Regions from separate parts of the Homo sapiens genome. Here regions 1 and 3 are each linked to region 2. Evidence: promoter capture Hi-C in 16 types of primary human blood cells and fetal thymus (Javierre and others, 2016). All regions are on one chromosome and are shown on one strand. The core of a region is centred on a gene start or on the middle of the fragment in contact, and the rest is flanking DNA. Distances in the headings are between cores, read along the strand shown.

Region 1 (4,500 bases), core at 676-3,175, 1.5 Mb after region 2:
AATTCTGGGGATACCTGGAAGCCAAAGATCCCTAGGTTGGGGCCAACTGCTGTAACCCATTAATCTCCCAGCCTGGGGTGGGGGGCTTACTCTGCCCTTACATGGGATTGTGATGCTCTCTCATCTAGTGCGTTGATGTGGGTGCCTTTGTATGAAGGGTGTGTCCTTGGCAGTCCTTCAAGCCTTCTTGCTACTCCACTAAAACAAACATATCCTATAAACAAATTCTTACAGATAGATAGCTGGAGCCTAATAAGGATGTGTTGAATGTTTGCAACTCTTTGCTAAGACCACAGGCTTCTAAAAGGAAAAGAAAAAAAAAAGCTAATTCCATTTATGTGATGTTCTAGAACAGGAATCACTAATTTGGTGACTGCCTTTGAGGCAACAGAATTGAGTTTGACTGGGAAGGGGCATGAGGAAACCTTCCAGAATGGCGGGGATATTCTCATCTCGAGAAGGGTTTGGGTTTTATGGGTGTCTGCATTTGTCAAGATTCATCGAATAGTACACTTAAGATCTGTGCATTTTGTTGTATGTTTTAAATTTAAAAAAAAAAACCATTGACAAATACTGAACTCTAATGACATGTATGCTGAACGATTTAGGGGTGAACTGATGTCTGCAACTTTGAAATGCATCAAAAAAGTGGATGAACTGATGGATGGATAGAGGGATGACAGAAAATATAACAAAAGATATATAGTAAAAAATAACTATGGCGGGCATCTGGATATTCACTGTATGATTCTCTCAACTTTTTTTTTTTTTTTTTTTTTTTGAGACAGAGTCTCACTCTGTCACCCAGGCTGGAGTGCAGTGGCACGATATTGGCTCACTGCAACCTCCGCCTCCCGGGTTCAAGCGATTCTCCTGCCTCAGCCTCGCGAGTAACTGGGATTACAGGCGCCCACCACCACGCATGGCTAATTTTTGTATATTTAGTAGAGACAGGGTTTCACCATTTTGGCCAGGCTAGTCTTGAACTCCTGAACTTGTGATCCACCCGCCTCAGCCTCCCAAAGTGCTAGGATTACAGGCGTGAGCCACCACGCCCGGCCATTCTCTCAACTTTTATATTAGAAAATTGTCACGATATGTTGGAATGAAAACAATTAAGGTAGATGTAATCATTTATTACCTTTAAACATGTTATGCCAACTTATTCAATGTTCAAGCTTCTGCTTTGTAAAAGGACATTTTTAACAGTTCTAACCAAAGAAGGCTGCAGAGTGGAAAGCTAATACCTTGGTGGTACTCTTCTCCACCAACATGGCTGGATGGTAATTACCTGTGACACATCCTTCCCTTTAGACTCTGTGCTGCTGGAGGGCAGGGAGCATGAGGCATTCATTTCATGAGCCATGTGTTTGTGGTGGGCACTTAATTAAGATGTGGTAAGAGCAGAGTTTCTGAGTCAGAAGGGTTCAGATTTGAGTTCTGCAACTTACTGGCTGCATGACCTTAGGCAACGTACTCACTAACACAGAGCTTCCATGTCCTGTCCGTAAAAAGGAAGTCATCTCCATTTGGCTGTCTGGAGGGCTCAGTGAGGTGATGTGACTAAAGCACAGTATCTGGCTCCTGAAAAGAACTTCAAAAATAGTAGCCTGTGCCTGAGACTGAGGCAGACCTGGATCTTTGGGCCCTAACAGAACTACTGGAGGACAAATTCCCAAAGGAATCACTAAATGATGGCTATTTCATTTCATCAAGACTGAGGTATCATGTCAACCCATTTCTAGGACAAAACTTCAGCTGCTGTCTTGGTCTGCTTTATCCACACCTGACCTGTCACTTACAATGTACATTCTGAGGACCAACATCTCCAAACATTGTCCTGGGGCAGGAGCATCCTCCTTACTAGAAAGCTCAGGGCCTCTGAATCAGAATCTGCATCACAACAAGATCCCCAGAATACTGAAGTTTGAGAAGCTCTGGTCTACATTAGATGGTTTTCTAATGGCTCCCTGTTGCCACTGATAATAAAGCTCTCTTGTCTTTACCAGAGCTACAAGTCATCCCTGACTCTCTTCGTCTTCCTTATTGCCCTTAATTTCTTCATTCTTTAGGATCTGCCCTCAGTGCTACTGGTTTTATTGTCATTAAAAAATATTAACGCAATGCTCAGACTTCCTCAATTATGAATATGGTAAAAAAAATTAACTTATGGACAATCTATTCTAAAAATACTAAATATATGGACACGTGGATGCAGCACTGTAGTCCTCCTTATTCACAGTTCCACTTTCTGAGGTTTCAGTTACCCAGGGGCAACCACGGTCTGAAAATAGGCGAGTACAGTACGATAAGATATTTCGGGAGACCACATCCACGCAACTTTTGTTACAGTATATTGTTATAGTTGTTCTACTTTATTATTAGTTATGAATCTCTTACTGTGCCTAATTTATAAATTAAACCATATCTTCAGTTTTTTTGTATAGCAAAAAACATATGTACAGTATGTGGGATTTGGTACTATCCAAGGTTTCAGGCAACCAGTCTTGAATGTAACCCCCCATGGATGGCAGGGGAGGGGAACTACCATATTTAAATTTTTAAAAATTGATAAGGTTTCTTTTCTCAGCTGGTAGGTTTTGTGTTGTTATGATTTTATAAGCTCAGCCACATGCAAAATCGAGTCAAGACACCTTGGCCAGGCAGGTGAGGAAGCTTATGTAGCCCCAACCTTGCCTTCTGCCACTCTGCACCCCATATTCCCTTCTCCAAGCTCTCACAGCTCTCTGCACCTCTGAATAGCTCTGGTGACACTAGGATCAGTGATTTGCCTGTCCTTCTCTCACTGCTACCTGAATACTGTATTTTCTTTCATAAAATAGCATCCTACCTGAATGCCTAGTGCTGACTGGAAAATATGGAGGGAGTGTTGGCATTGGAAATTACAGCTTTGTAACTATTAGGGTAAAAACTAGTCTAGGCAAGAATCATTAATGGATGCACAGTCTTAAATTGTCTCCTCAGAGATGGTCTTAGAAACGAAAAAAATAGTAACTGTACAAGGCAGAAATCAGGCACTACCAAATGTGATATCCCTCACACAACCCCCAAATAAAACATTCAGCTACCAAAAAGGAGGACCCTGTTCTTAAAAGACAGAAAAACAAACCCTAAGAAAAATATTCCAGGTTAAAGGATACTAGAATCATGACAACTAAACCTAATCCTAGGCTGGATCCCATACTAGAACGCAAAAAAAAAAAAAAGTTATAAAACACATTATCAAGTCAATTGTCAAATTAGAATACCGATGATAGGTTATTAAAAGTACTGCATCAGTGTTACATGTACTGCACCTGCAACTTTGTTACGTTTGAAATTATTTTCAAATAAAAGGTTTAAAATTTACAAAAAAGTATTTCTTTCTAAATTAAAAAAATAACCATTTCAATATATAAAAATAAAAATATATTTAAATATAAAAATAAACTACCCAAAGGCATGTTTCTTTAAACAGGTAAATCACGCTATCAGTAAAAAAAAAAAAGTGCAATAGAGCAGCCGGGTGCGGTGGCTCACACCTGTAATCCCAGCACTTTGGGAGGCTGAGCTGGGTCAATCACCTGAGGTCAGGAGTTTGAGACCAGCCTGGCCAACATGGTGAAACTCTGTCTCTACTAAAAACACACAAAAAAATTAGCCAGGCATGGTGGTAGGTGCCTGTAATCCCAGCTACTCGGGAGGCTGAGGCAGGAGAATTGCTTGAACCTGGGTGGCAGAGGTTGCAGTGAGCCGAGATTGTGCCATTGCACTCCAGCCTGGTCAATAAGAGCAAAACTCTGTCTCAAACAAAACAAAACAAAACAAAAAAACAAAAAAAAAAACTGCAATAGAGCTTGTGAGAAGCTGCCAGGAACAAGGTGAAATGGAACATACATTGGAGGAGAATAAGGAAGCAGCAATAATGAATCCTGGCCAACAGGTACTGAGCCCCAAATCGCTTCACAAGTATTATCACAGTTTCACTGCTTTCCAATGTATTCATTTATGCCTTTGTGTTTCTTTTTGCTATATTTTTTCAAGCTTGGGTTGAAGACTTTGTTTCCTTACCTCTTAAATTTTTTATTTCAATGATAAAGTCATTAAATACAATGGATTTGCTATGATCAGAATTTTGGTTTTCATACATAGTATTCTTGTTTTGTTTCTAATGTAAAACAAAAACTACCAAGGCTTAAGAAAAGAAGTGAAAAGGTTGAGTTACTACACACACCACTGAAAAAGTTTCACAAGTTGTTCACTGAGGGGGAAATTTCAGTGTTTTTAAATGTTAGGAGGTAGAGTTTCATTGTGGCTGTGTTCATTATGGATTAAAAACTAGCACTCTGGATAGGTCAGAATGAATCCATAGTACTGTTACATAATTGGTTTAAAAGGTTCTATTTTTCAGAGGTCAGGAAAAATTATTGAGTTACAGCCAAGTAGTTTTGCCCTACTAGGGTCACTCAAAGTTTAGAGTTCTTAACAGATATAGCTGAG
Region 2 (4,048 bases), core at 1,498-3,997:
TCACTCTAGATACATTTCTTAATGTAATCACCACCTGGGGAGAGAAAGAAGATACAAACGAATTGCCATACATTTTGTGACTCTATGTAACATAAATAAGACAAAATTTATCCACCAGTTTTATGGTGCATTTTCCTTTATACATGGCTCCTTCTTAAAACTACTGCAGCAAGATACCAAAAACAATTAATGAGAAACATAAAACACGTGCAGATAAGGTAGGGAAATGTATGTGTATTCAGAGTCACTAAGAGACACCTCAGTTATCTTCCTTATAATTTAGACATCTTGGCACAGTTTTATTCCCTACTGTTTGTAGTAATTTTTCTGCTACTCCCAAAATAAGCAAGTTTTATCATCTGCAAATACATGACACTTGGATAGGGTGGTTATAACGCTGCCTCCTTGTTTCTCTCGATTAAAAAAAGCCTGTTTCACAGGAAAATAAATCACGATACCTAACCCAAATGTGAAAGAACAGACTGAGCAGAACTAACAAAACTCATTTGCTCTTCTAGTTTTTAAAAATGTGAGTTTTGGACATCTGATTCCTGATCTCACCCTCAAGAAGTGGATCTGGTTATAAAGTGATGATGTTTTACAGTACATGTGACCATAGTTTAGCTGCTATAATATTCTTAATATAGTTACATAGCCAGGCTATGCAAGGTTTCTCACAAAACCAGAAAAGCTATTCGATCCTTATCATTCCCTTCCTGTACTGTTCTCAATAACTGGCTTCTCAAATCGTTCAGGAAACCACTGAGAATCATTAACGGGTTATTGGAATGCCCAGAGTGACTGCCCAAGGACAGGAAAATGCACTGGCTCTTTTTAGAAGAACCTGGAAAAGTGCATGCAGACCATTGCGGCTGAGTTGGCAATGGATGATTTCCTTCTCACAGTGTAATGTACAATAGCTGTAATTTAATTGTTAATAGAACACAACATGCAGTCTGTCTTCAGGCCTCTGTGTTTCTTGTGGTATTTTCTTCCCAGGTTGGAGTGTTTTTGTATAATCACATCTTATTCTCTTTTAACAGTTATCAACTCTTGGCTAGATCCCCTTATACAATACAGAGTATAGTTTATTCTCAGTAGTGTAGCCATCCTCATTATTATCAAACAGAACTAATTGCTGAGATGCTCATAGTAATATGCAAAACAGCTTGTCCTTTGTTATTTAGAAATTGTTTATATTAAGTTTATATTCTCTTTTAATTTGTTAAAGATATAATTCTTTGACTGAGATAGGACATTTCTTCTCATTGGTTTATTTATTTTAGAGATGAGATCTCACTATGTTGCCCAGGATGATTTTGAACTCCTGGACTCAACCAGTCCTCCTGTCTCAGCCTCCCCAAATGCTAGGATTACAGGTGTGAGCTACTACACTCAGCCATTTCTTCTAGTTTTAGATCTATATAATAAAACGATGCTTTTCTGTGATCCCTTAACATTCTCTACACTCAGGTGCATGTTCAAAGCATATTTGTTTTACTGTTGCCTAGTTTTCCATGTCATTCATTGAATTATCCAATGCATATTAATTATCAGTCACTTTTCCCATTACTAAGGGTACTTGAGTGAACAGAGCAGACAAAAACCCCACCCTTAAAAAGCTTATATTATTTTCAAGTTGTTGCAACTTTGGGTGTTTTTAAAAAATAAAAATTCCCAGCTGATAAAACCAACTTATTTGACAGCTACCTGCCTCACCAGTAGAACCAAGTTATAGCCAGAATTCAGAAATAACATTTTTGAGCATTTATTGTGTCTGACAATGTGCCAATCACTTTACATTTATTTTAGCTCATTTAATGCTTACAACAACTAGAAGGAGGTACTATTAGGATCCCTATTTTACAGATGAAAAAAGTGAAGGTCAGAGAGATTAGTTAAGCAGAGGGTACAAGATTAGGTTCCAGTTGACTCTTAACAACCATTTCATATTCCAGGTGATGCTTTACAGACATCTGATGAATGGATGGATGAATGAATGCATGCACTTTGGGAACTCCCATTCAGCTTGGCATAAATACTAACTCCTTAGAATACCCTAGAAAAATCTAGACCTTTTGTTGGAAGAAAAGAGTGGGAAGGGTGGTAGGGAATTATTTTTTCGAGTGAATTGAGGCAGATGATCTTACAGATGACTGGGTTCTAGTCAGCATGGTTGCCTTATCTGGTGAGAGATGAGAATTGGGCAGACACCAGTTCTGTCTGCCCTGGGCCCTCAAACTGAGTAGCCTCTGAGATTCAAGTTCATCAGCACAGTGTTGGAGGACAGTTCCTGCAGAGCCCCATGAATCAGAGGAGACTCGGAGGCAGGAGGAACTGGCTATCCTAAAGGTGATTTTAAACCGGGGTAGCTAGAGCCCAAAGAAGGGCGAAACCAGGACTAACTGCCCCATAGCATGAGGGGCAGCGCCTGTAAAATTACATAGGATTTGTAAAGGTGGAAGGCACTGTTGCGCCGGGTAAAGCTTCGCAAGGTCGTGGTAGGGGAAATGATTCACTCCCCTTCACTATTCCCTCGCAGCATGGTCCTCACAACCCCCTTCTCTTTCCCCATTTCCATTTCCGGACTCTTCTCCTGCCCGCAGGGCAGACGCACGCGCAGAGAGATTGCCAGCCCTGGCTGCCAGAGACCCGGAAGCATCGATCGGCTCTGTGCTCGGCTTCTAGACTTGTCGGCGCTCGATTGAGGAGCGTGGCTACGTTGCTTCCGGTGCCTGGCTCCGTTTCCTGCTTTTGGTTCTTACAGTAGTCGGCGTAGGCCTTAGGTGGGTTCGTGCGCCTTCTACCTCGCTGTTTCGGTTTTCCTGGCTCCTCGGCCCTTTTCTCCCCTGTTGCAGCTGGGAGCGGACGAAGCGCGAAGCTGGGGTGGGTACGCGTTTGGCCCGGGTTTGGATCTCGGAGGGGCAGGCTTGGGGGTGAGGAGACTGACTCTGGGGCCGGGCATCGCGTGGCAGCTCCCTTGGACTTCGTTAGGGGGCCTTGGGCGAAGGTGCTTGTGTCTGGAGAGGCGGGAGGCTTGCGCGTACGAAGTAAAGGATAGTTAATGTCAGTCTGCTCGTGCGAGGCGTGGACAGTTCACTGCGCTTTCAGGTGTCTTCCAGCGGCTCCCTTTTGGTGGTGGCGGGTAATTCAGGGTGTCCCTGTAACAACGCAGCCCACGATCAAACCTCGCATGAAACCCTGCAAGAGCCTCCCCTTTGTCCCCCTACCTTCACTTTGACCTCTGCCTCAGTCACTTCCCTTTCGTCGTCTCCTTTGCGACCCCTGCCCCTTCTCCAGATTTCGATTTAGGGGGTCGCAAGGCTTTGAGAAGCGTTACGTTTTACCTGTTACCTGCACAAGTGCAGCCCCTGCTTGTAGGCTCTTCCCTTGTCAATCATCCAATGCAGTTCACATACAGTGGATGCTCTGTAAATACTGTGAGATAAAGGAATATGTGGGGCACACAAGGAAATCATCCAAGTTCACAATTTGCAAGTAAAAACCATGTAAAAAATGCAATAGTGTGGTATATGAGGAAGACAAGTGTAGAGGAGAAAGCAAGGGCTGAATTTCCAGGCCTGATGCTTATTAGCTGTGTGACCTTAGGCAAGTTCCTTACCTGGTAATAGCTGTTAATAATAGCTACTCTTAAGTGTTTACCGCTGATGCAGAACTGTGCTAGAATTCATTTAGTCTTCTGAGTTCTATTGGGTAGGTTCTGTTACCATTCTTATTTTACTGATGAGGACCTGAGAGGTTAAGGAACTTCCCTCAGGCAAACAGCTAGTAAGAAGCATAAATAGGATTTGAATTCACATCTGGCTGATACTGGAATCTGAGTTTAATCGTCATGCCACACTGCTGTCATTGAGCTCCTTTCTTTCAAGTCGGTTAGAGATAACCTTGGAGTCCAGACAGCTTGGTGATGCTGTATACAAATTAATAGGTATGGAAGGACTTTGTAAGTGCACCCATTAAGTAGTTGGCAAACTTCATTAATGTCTAACCTTATGATTTTTACTGGATGTACATTTGCTACTTTGGT
Region 3 (4,456 bases), core at 983-3,482, 1.2 Mb after region 2:
AAAAATTATTCCAAAAATGAGTAGTTACTAAAAAGCAGTTTATACATAGATCATTTAGAAATGTCAGTTGAGCTGGGCGCGGCGGCTCACCCCTGTAATCCCAGCACTTTGGGAGGCCAAGGCGGGTGGTTCACAGGGTCAGGAGATGGAGACCATCCTGGCTAACATGGTGAAACCCCGTCTCTACTAAAAATACAAAAAATTAGCTAAGCGTGGTGGCGGGCACCTGTAGTCCCAGCTACTTGGGAGGCTGAGGCAGGAGAATGGCCTGAACACTGGAGGCGGAGCTTGCAGTGAGCTGAGATCACACCACTGCACTCTAGCCTGGGCGACAGAGCGAAACTGTCTCAAAAAAAAAAAAAAAGAATTAAAAATTAAAAAAAAGAAAAAGAAATGTCAGTTGAGACATTTCTAAGTTTATGTGAAACTGAGGGGAAACCCATTCTTCACATGCATTGGTATATCCGAAGTATTCCTGTAATGTAAACAACAGCTACAATAATGTCATGTACAATACATTTGGCCAAATACCTGACTGTACACTAAGGCCTGAACTAAATAGAACAAAATCTTGAATTCTTACATAAATGCCAAAGTACAATGAACATTCAAGAGGCATTAACCAGGCCACACAAATATCTGAAAGGAAAACCTGGGGAGATGGCACAGAGAACAGTCATGTGGAATAGGATCCTGGGTGGAGAGTTCAGAGTAAACCTGGGACTGTTTCAAATAGCCAAGGAATCTAGACAGGAGGGGTGAATTAGAAAAACCAACCAAGGCCTTACTTAATTAGCACAATCCCACTGTGGTTACACATGAGCAACAAGTGTGAGCATCACTCTGAATACTCAATTAACTGATTTTCTGAGCTGGAAATTGAGAGGAAAAAAACTACCTAACTCCATTTCTGCCCGTCAAAAAAAAAAAAAAAAAAAAGAGAGGAGAGAACAGTGGCAGCACTAATAGGAACTGGGCTATTAGGGAAAAGTGACTTAAATAAAAGTACATTAAAGCAGACAAGGTGGTGGTCAATCTGAAAACCTGACACACAAGGCACGAGGAACTCATAGCGTAAGCATCTCATTGCCCCATTCCTTTTACTGTAAGGAGTGCTAAAGTAAAGTTGTCATAACACTGGATTACCCAAAGCACGGAATGCCAAGTGAAGATTACAATTAAGAAGATGAGGTATTTCACTCCAAATTTCCCTTTGGGTCCCTTTCTTCAAAATAAAAAGTTCAAGACTAAAAACTTATGTACTTAACCTCTAAAACTTGAAAATCTGGTCAATCAGCTATAAAAAGACTAAATATATTCACTAAAAGCACATGGATTACTTAAGTTTCAAGTACTCCCTTTTTCCTTAAGCACTGTATATTTATAATTCTGAAAGCCAGAGGGAGCCTATTACAATGGCTTTCCTCCAAAAAATTAAGCTCAAGTAGTCACCAGAAGTTGATTTTAACATCAACTATTAGTAAGATCAAAACAGATACTTTTGAGTCCTCACATCTCAACCTAAGTATTTTTCTTCCACATGAATTCTTGATAACTCCTATGAAATATCTGCTTGTCTGGCTTAATTTTCACATGTCCATTTGTGAGATCTCTGCAAACAAAGATAAAGCTTCAAGGTCTGCGACTTCATTTGATCATAACTGACTCCAGCTTTGGCGTATTTTCTGATAAGAGCTTCCTTCCTTCTGCTAAGTTAACACTGGCAAATACAGCCTTTAAAAATACCTCAAATCATTAACTGAGATGTGATTGCAGAGGCTATACCAACGACTCTACTGATCTTAGGCTTATCTGTCAAGGTCAGGCAGGCCCAAGAACAGGAATAAACAGAGCCAGGCCTAAGAAGTAGCCATGGTCTCTGGAGGAGACATAGGACAGCTCACAGGACAGGTCTAAGGTGCCTTTCCCAGAGCTCAAAAACTGCCACATTTCCTAAGATTCCATTTCCTAAAGTCACAAACCCTGACTTCTAGCACTGCTCAAATGAATATGCTGACAGTTCCATTTTCGCTCACAAGCCCAGCAAACTCAGTGAGCCTGTGAACTCCACATGGGATACCCTTGGAATTCGAATAGGAGGACCCAAGGGGGATGTAATCAAGTAAATGGAGCTCATTTGTGCACCACAGTTAAAGCTGCAATGGATGCTACCAGCTGCTTTAGCTGCTTTTCGTTCCTCTGAATAATTATCTTCTCTTTTCGTCCCTTTCCCCATGTAGAGGTAATACCCCCGACTATACCTGTCTTCCTTTCTGGTTAGTATAGAAACATATTTTTTGTTTCAGAATGTGATGAAGACAAAAAGAAGAAAACCACTAGGTTATGAGTGACTGCAACCACAGCATATCAAACATCCGAGGTTCACTAGCAGCCATTTTGCCCAGACATTTCGCCCTAGGAAGGGATTCAAGCAAAACTCCAATCACTTGACATGACAGTCCTAACCACCAAATAAGCAAATAATGCAATGTTGTATTTGGGCCTTAAAGAACTGTCTAAAAGAGAGTATTGGCAAAACCCCTCAGCATCCAGGCCATCATTAACTCAATGTCCCCCAGGCGCAAGTTAAATGAACTTTCTCATATTATAGCATATAACCCTCCAGATGAGACAAACATGGGTAGAAACTTGTGAAATGACTAGAGCTTCTAAGTCAGCATTTGTACTCTCACTCGGGAAGCATCAAGTGTGACCAAAAGTTCAGCATTCCTTCTGCTTAGTCAACAAACCCACTCCACAGTGCTACAGAACTTGCTAAATAATTGCCAGGCTCCACTCTTCCCCTCTCACTTGCCTCTGCCTCCATCCCCCCTTAAGCTTGAAGGGCTCAGAGTACTCCTTAGCCCTGCTGGCCAACACTTGAGTCTCTGACTTAGGCCACAGATGTTACAATGCTTACAGTGGCCGTTTACAACAGTTAACAAAGCAGGCTTTAGAACCAAGTCCAGCCTTGGGCATGCCGGACCTTTACCATGCAAAGTTTTACCTCTTTTCCAGATCCCTTAGGTCACTTGTAAGAATCAAATTGAAAATATACCTACTCTCAAATAATTTAAGTTTTAAAACTGACTTCTGGCTGGGTGTGGTGGCTCACGCCTGCAATCCCAGCAATTTGGGATGCCAAGGTAGGCAGATCACTTGAGGTCAGGAGATCGAGACCAGCCTGACCAACATGGTGAAACCCCGTCTCTACTAAAAATACAAAAAGTGGCCAGGCACGGTGGCTCACGCCTGTAATCCCAGCACTTTGGGAGGTGGAGGCAGCTAGATCACAAGGTCAGGAGATCGAGAACATCTTGGCCAACACGGTGAAACCCCGTCTCTACCAAAAATACAAAAATTAGCTGGGCATGGTGGCGCACATCTGTAATCCCAGCTACTCAGGAGGCTGAGGTAGGAGAATCGCTTGAACCCAGGAGGCAGAGGTTGCAGTGAGCCGACATCACGCGACTGCACTCCAGCCTGGGCGATGAGAGCGAAACTCCGTCTTAAAAAAACAAACAAACAAAAAAACACACACAAATTAGCCTGGCATGGTGGCGTGCGCCTGTAATCCCAGCTACTCAGGAGGCTGAGGCAGAAGAACTGCTTGAACTCGGGAGGAGGAGGTTGCAGTGAGCCAAGATCGCACCACTGCACTTCAGCCTGGGCAACAGAGCGAGTCTCCAAAAAAAAAAAAAAAAACTACACATAAAAAACAAACCCAACAACCCAGCCTGAGCAAAACGGTGAGACCTCATCTCTATTTCAGAATTTTTAAAAAATTTTTAAAAACCTGACTTTTGTAGATTTCCCTTGAAACTACTGGATCACGTATCCAAAGTTTTAGGTAAAGTTTCAGTTCATGATGTACTTCCCTACCAGGTCAATCCTTACAATACGGATTATAATCAGCCTTCACGGTAAACAAGCACGGCTTCATTTGGAAAGCACATTTTCAACTGTTTTAAAAAATCGCAGTGCTTTTGGTAAGAGAGCCAAGGCACTTCCCTAAAAGGAGAAAAGTAGTTACGGAATCCCTGTGCATTTCCTCACCTATTCATCAGCTTCCCAGCTGGGGCACATCAGACACTGGCTGCAGGACAACCCTGCAGCTGTTGAGCTCCTGCCCACCAGTCTTCATAAACTCACTTTTGGTCCAAATTTCACTTACGACTCTACCAGCAAAGCTGCCTCTTCAAAAGGTTTAATGGCTTACAGAGGGCAAAGGGCACCTGGATGACTGAACAACACAAAAGGCAAGATTCTAAAACTCAGAACCCACCAGGAGAACAGAAAAAATACAGTTTTTTCTAAGTGGTTATGGTGACTGCAGACTCAGTGCCAAAATGAAAAAGACACAGTCCAAAGAAGTGAAACTCCACAATCTCTGATCTGTTAGATTGGGGCTAGTTGAACAGTCATTTAAATCTAATAGTCATTTGTATACAATGTA

The links. Contacts are between HindIII fragments. The CHiCAGO score rates a contact against its expected background, and 5 or more counts as called.
Region 1: a contact is called between a fragment that was not itself captured here and the fragment with the promoter of SNRPB2 in region 2, in 4 of 17 cell types (naive CD8 T cells, naive CD4 T cells, non-activated CD4 T cells and 1 more). The highest score is 8.4, in naive CD8 T cells.
Region 3: a contact is called between a fragment that was not itself captured here and the fragment with the promoter of SNRPB2 in region 2, in 2 of 17 cell types (activated CD4 T cells and total CD4 T cells). The highest score is 7.6, in activated CD4 T cells.

Annotation. Positions count from the first base shown.
Region 1 is chr20:18,278,062-18,282,561 of GRCh38, forward strand. LOC124904876 (a long non-coding RNA gene) reads left to right here. Exons shown (of 3, transcript XR_007067544.1): 3 at 1,746-2,010. Among named protein-coding and RNA genes, the nearest start is that of ZNF133, 8.2 kb to the right of the region's middle. The HindIII fragment of the contact is 1,498 bases long and covers 1,177-2,674 here.
Region 2 is chr20:16,727,279-16,731,326 of GRCh38, forward strand. It overlaps SNRPB2 (small nuclear ribonucleoprotein polypeptide B2), which reads left to right and starts at 2,748. Exons shown (of 7, transcript NM_003092.5): 1 at 2,748-2,886. RefSeq lists enhancers at 1,859-2,727, 2,786-2,835, 2,886-3,005 and a silencer at 3,156-3,205. The HindIII fragment of the contact is 9,448 bases long and covers 2,485-4,048 here.
Region 3 is chr20:17,957,084-17,961,539 of GRCh38, forward strand. All of the region lies in intron 1 of SNX5 (sorting nexin 5), which reads right to left. Among named protein-coding and RNA genes, the nearest start is that of SNORD17, 3.6 kb to the right of the region's middle. RefSeq lists an enhancer at 4,179-4,348. The HindIII fragment of the contact is 1,208 bases long and covers 1,629-2,836 here.